Linked DNA regions of Homo sapiens: region 1 is linked to region 2. The links are contacts of gene promoters, found by promoter capture Hi-C in human tissues and cell types (Jung and others, 2019). All regions are on one chromosome and are shown on one strand. The core of a region is centred on a gene start or on the middle of the fragment in contact, and the rest is flanking DNA. Distances in the headings are between cores, read along the strand shown.

Evidence for each region. Contacts are between HindIII fragments. The study calls those that stand out against the background at their distance.
Region 1: a fragment that was not itself captured here is called in contact with the fragment with the promoter of PEX5L in region 2 in 2 of the 25 tissues and cell types used here (hippocampus and pancreas).

The regions. Positions count from the first base shown.
Region 1 is chr3:180,115,942-180,118,939 of GRCh38, reverse strand. No RefSeq gene overlaps it. Among named protein-coding and RNA genes, the nearest start is that of PEX5L, 81 kb to the right of the region's middle. The HindIII fragment of the contact is 6,221 bases long and covers 1-2,998 here.
Region 2 is chr3:180,035,472-180,038,331 of GRCh38, reverse strand. PEX5L (peroxisomal biogenesis factor 5 like) reads left to right here and starts at 1,395. Exons shown (of 15, transcript NM_016559.3): 1 at 1,395-1,753. The coding sequence starts at 1,733. RefSeq lists a silencer at 1,280-1,329. The HindIII fragment of the contact is 6,291 bases long and covers 1-2,854 here.

The sequences.
Region 1 (2,998 bases), core at 83-2,582, 81 kb before region 2:
TGTCTTGGAAATCTTATAGATATATTGGTAAGTGAAAAAAATTACAGAAAAATATGTATACTATGATCCCATTCCTATCACAAATTACTGACAAACAAACCATATATGTGCATATATGTACATGGTTAGTTTCTGGGTGGCGATAAAGGGAAGCTTTCCCTACATACGTTATTTTTTCCAAAAATGTTTTCCTATATTGTACATATAATTACATTTTATTTTTAGAATCGATGGAATGCAAGCACTTGTGTGCTTTTAGAGGTAAAATTTTTAAATAAGGGAACAAGGTTCAGAGGCTCTGAAAACTCAGAGTATGCATTTTGGAACTGAGAAATGCTGAAAGAAGGCTTCAGTAAAATTCTGCAGTGAGAAGTCTGTCCATGGTCTTTCCTCATCTCAATATAAAAGAGGCTCCCCAAGGCTTTGGTGGACTTCCTTTTCCGCTGTGTGTGTGTGTGTGTGTGTGTGTGTGTGTGTGTGTGTGTGTTTTCTCCCTCACTCTCTGTTTGTCCCAGAACACTAGATTAAGAATGAGTTAGGCCTCTGTTCAGATCTAGATTTCCAAGAAAAAGTGGAAACTAATTTTTTAAAAAGAATGAGATAGACCTAGGAGGGGATTCTTCTCCCAAAACAATGAAAGTCTCCCACAACTCTTCCTCATCCCAATTCCTGCCCCTCCAACACCAAGCTCTACTTAGCATCACAGCACAGGGGTCCCTGACATGCAGCCACACCATGCTGTGGGGGAGAGTGTGGGGTCCCTGACATGGCAGCCACACCACGCTGTGGGGGAGAGTGTGGGATCCCTGACATGGCAGCCACACCACGCTGTGGGGGAGAGTGTGGGGTCCCTGACATGGCAGCCACACCACGCTGTGGGGGAGAGTGTGGGGTCCCTGACATGGCAGCCACACCACACTGTGGCGGAGAGTGTGGGGTCCCTGACATGGCAGCCACACCACGCTGTGGGGGACAGTGTGGGGTCCCTGGCATGGCAGCCACACCATGCTGTGGGGGAGAGTGTGGCGTCCTTGACATGCGGTCACACCACGCTGTGGGGGACAGTGTGGGGTCCTTGACATGCAGCCACACCATGTTGTTGGGGAGAGCTCTGCAGCTTGACACAACACTCCTGTTTCTCATCAATTATAAAAAGCAGCTGGCCGTTGAATTTCCCCATGGAGGCTCTGAATTCACCGGGTGATTTCTGAAGCCTTCTCATCTATTTTGGTAGGTTTCCTGTAAAGGATTCTTTATCAGAAGTGGTGAAGATTAGATAGATATCATTATTTAAGATGAATATTTCTTATCAAGAGCCAGGAACCACAGGCCAGGAACTGTAAAAATACATTTACATGCATTGCTCAATTTAGCCTCTGGACTTTATGAGGTAACAGCTATTGATATCACCATTTTACAGATGAGGAAACTGTAGCTTAGAAGTGTAGAGTAATTATCCAAGTTCACGTGGTTGGTGAGTAGAAGGAGTTAGGACTTAAACCTAAATTCAAACCCAATCAGTCTAATTCCCTGTAAACTTAACTACCACATGAGAACTAGTGTGGGCTGAACAAGAAAAAAACTGTTCCTTGACAAAATGGAACCTATACCTTAGAACTTTTTAAGACAAGCTGTTTGCTTAACTCTGGGGTTATTTATATGACAAGAGTTACATGAAATAGCAGGGTAAGTCCCAACCTGGTGTACATTTCTCCCAGCAGCATGGAGGGACTGTATTGATTTTATCCTCTAAAAACCTGACAGCAGGACAATGTCATCGTTTCTTTTTTACAGATAACATCAGCCAGCAGTTTTCAAACCAACTTTGAGCATCTCCATTTAGGATTCATTACCCTGGAAAATGTCCCTCTTATATCCATCAATGAAAATAAGCTGTTCTTGAAGGAGTCCTCAGAAAAGTCTACACCGAAAAAATGGACCTCAGAGTATATTCAGATTTGAAACACCTCACAGCTGGGAATAGATAACCTTTTCCTATCATCAACAAGAAAGCTGTAAGCACAGGGACTGGTATGCACCTTTCCAGAATCCTCTCGGGAAAACACATTCCTTTACATTCACTCCAGGCTGGAGATCTGAGAGGAGCAAAGAAGTGCTTTGCCAGAGCCCAATGCAAGGAAGCATATGGATCTGCTGCCCAGACATCCTCTCTCTGCACCTTCATCCACATAAAACATGGATTTAATGAGAAGAAGAAGCTGGCATAAATGAGAGAAGTCTCCAATTTTAATGACTTAATACTTTTACTTCAGAACCCATAAACAACTACCATCTGGCCTCATTTTATTTTTTATCACACCGGAGAAAATCTCAGCCTACTACATGATAAAAAAAAAAAAATCAGAATCAAATTCCTGTTTTCTCTCAACCCCCACTTCCAGCTCTGAGCACAGAGTTTTGCAAAGCAAATCTTCGCTATTATTCTTATGGAGAAAGAATTCTGGCAAGAATGAAAAAGAACCCAGAGGAAGACAAGCACAAAAGGTGTTTTGTTTCTTTCAAATCAGTGTAATTGATACAGCTGTGTATGAGAGCAAAGCTGTTTCACTGAAACAGATCTAAGCCCCGGTAGGGACTTGCAGGCCTTGGCGCCATTTCCCTCAGAGCTGTTCTCAGATTACCTTACCTCAGTCTACCTTTAGTGTCTCCCGTCAAAACACCAAAAAATATGTAAATAAAAAGTTAAAATAAAGAGAATTCTCAGTAAAGAGCTCTGAATTAGACAACAAAGACAGTTATTCTGTATTCTTTTTAGAAACTACCTCACTTTAAAAACATTTTTTAAAATAAATGAGTGGTACACAGTAATGAGTTTAATAAAAGCAAACTGGCTCAAGCTTTATAAAGTTCAGCCCTCTGTTCACGGTTCTGACACACCTTGGGATTTTCAGATGGGGGCAACTCTTACCCAGGGGTGAATTTGACCCATAATTTCATATTCTTCAGGAGAAAGAAGCAAATAGATGAGTTGAATCTG
Region 2 (2,860 bases), core at 146-2,645:
ATCCTTTTGTTCATTTCACATTCTCCTCATTAGTCCATACATGGTTCTATTTTATTTAGTTACACAGTAATTTTTAATAGGATATTAGGTGTCCTATGAATCACTACCCGGCATAGAAGATAAGACATTAACATCTAAACTTCAAGTGAAATGCTTCCCCATCTATTTCCCTGCCTCCCTTCACCCAGGGTCACCAACACTCTGAACACTATATTCATTGTTCCACTGCTTTCCTTTTTATATTGTTGTATATGAATATATGAATACACATTGACATTTCTAGGGATTTTTTAAACTTTATAAAAAGCATATTATGCTATATGCAATATTTTGGGGATATCATGCTGTACATAATATGAGGGGCCTGTAGAATTGGAGATGTTTTTACCAACAAAATTAGGTAATCACAGTATACACCACCCCGTGGTGTGTGTGTATATATGAACATTTATTGTGTAGACACATCAAACTACCCAGTCTCAACTTGAGACATATTTAAATGCACTCTTCATATATGTGTGTATGTGTGTGTAAGTGTATAGTAGTAAAGGTCTATTCATTCAGCAAATATTTATTGTGTGCCTGCCATGTGTCAGGAAGTACTAAATACCTTACTGTGCACACACGTGCAAAACCAAGTGCAACACTCCACCCCCCTAAAAAAAAGTCCCTGATCTCATGGAAATAACATTGTACAGAGGGAGAGACAGACAGTACATAAAATAAATATGGAAAATATAAAGGATGTTAGGTGATGTTACGTGCTAGGGAAAAAAATAAAACATGCCAGATCCTCAGGGACTAGGGTTTGCCGTTTTAAATAGAATGCTCGGCGATGAACTGGGGATGAGGGGAGCGGGGAGTCTTTATTTAACGGGTGATACGGACGTAACTTTCGAGAGCTGAATCAGAACCGAAGTAAACTCTTCGGCAACCCCTGCACTCAGCCTATAATGTCTGTAGGATAACAGGCTCAGCCGCGGTGGATGGCCCCCGGAGAGACGATGCATGTCTTCCCGCCTTTCTTCCGGCCGGCCATCCTCTCCGCTAGAATCGCCCTGCCCGCCGACGCCGCACCTGAACGCCGCGCTGCTGCGGGCGTTGTACACCAGCGCGACCACCGCCTGCCGGCACCTCGCCTTGCCGCCGCGCGCGCGCAGCCCCGAGGACGCGCTCGGGGAGCGCGCACCGCCCGGGGCCGCCCTCGGGCCGCTCCCAGGCCCCTGGGAACGCGCGCGCGTGCCCGGTCCCGCGGCCTCTCGGCAGGCACGCGGCTGGGAGAACGGCGCGCGCCCCGCTCGGCAGCTGCGGCGGCGGCTGGTGTAGGCGCTCACGTCAGGGCTGGGAGGAGGGGGTTCGCAGCTCAGAGAGAGAGAGACATGAGGCAACCTGGCAGGAAGCGAGAAAGAGTTCGGCGAAGAAGGAGTGAGTTCTAGAGACGCCCCGCGAGCAGGACCCGCGCCTGCAGGAGAGCCTGGCCGACCCGGCTCCTCGCCTTCTCTGCGCGCTCTCCCGCGTCCGCTTTCAGCACCCCGAGCGGAGAACAGTTCCCGGCAGCCCGCAGCGCTGCCGAGTGGCCGCCGGCCGGCCGAGTACCCGGAGCTCCAGGGGGCTCAGGAGCACCCTCTGAGAACCCGCTGTGCACCCACCTTTTCCCCTCTTTTGGTGGGCAAGTAAGCACGGGGGAAAAGCATCCGGTGGCCTCAGGGAGCCCTGAAGAAACCGAAGCAGAATGTACCAGGGACACATGCAGGTAAGACATTTCTATAGGGCTGGAGAGAATTCTTGGGGGCTAATTTAAGAGCAAGGCGGTTCACCAAGTTTCTGTGGTCAAGTGCTGCCTTCGCACAGCTCAACAAGTGAAGTGATGCAACATGACCGTGACATTTCTGTCCGGTGCTGCCGGGAAAACTAGACCGGTTTCCGAAGGTGGGAGAAGGGGAGGGAAGACCTCAGAACTTCGATTGGGGAAGTTTGTTTTCTGTGCATTCCCTGAGCCTGTTTCTTTAAACAGGATCAAGGAATCGAAACAGAGGAAACCCTAGAGATGACCGTGTTTCCGTTGTAATCCTATTGATGCATCTCAGCATGTATGTCAACTGAAGGGCAAACAATAATAGGAAAGACAAAGCTTTTCCTTTACCATCTGAAAAGGTTGCTTGACTTAGAACACTCTGTCACTTTCGTTTCATTTTTTAAAGTGTTATATTTAAAAAACGATTTATAGTGTATTTTCCCCCTTCACATTATGGGACATTGCCATCTACTCCAATAGTCACAGGATGACTTGGGAGGATGAATTTCAAACACATGTCCAAGGAGCTCTAATGTTTTTCAGGGGAGGTGCTGCCTCCGGTTGTTATTAATATTCATCTGAGCTGAGCCGCTGCTTCTTTCCGATGCAAACACACTCTACTCTCTTGGGCAAGATTACTTTAACCTTGACTCCAGTTCTCATTCATACGGTTGGTTGGTTCTTATAAAGGCAGATATATGCTTTGGGAGAAAAATAAAATACTAACTCAGCTTTCTAAAGTATGAACTGGACTCTTTATCGCACCTAAATGGTTTAGTCATCAGGTTTGATGTTTGGGCTTCCTTTCCATTCCAAAGATGGTCAAATACAATCATTATGTGTGATGCCTTTATCCTGGTGTATAACATTTATGAATACTGAGGATTTTGCTTCTGTGTCTTTTAGAGCAATTGGAAATAGATAAATATGTTGTTATATTTATGACTTAGTACTACCCAGATTTAATTTCCATAACTTAGGGAAATTCTTTTGGACTATAATCCATTTTTAAATAAAACACAATATTTCATCATAGTCTCAATTTTTATAAGAATTCTCAATATA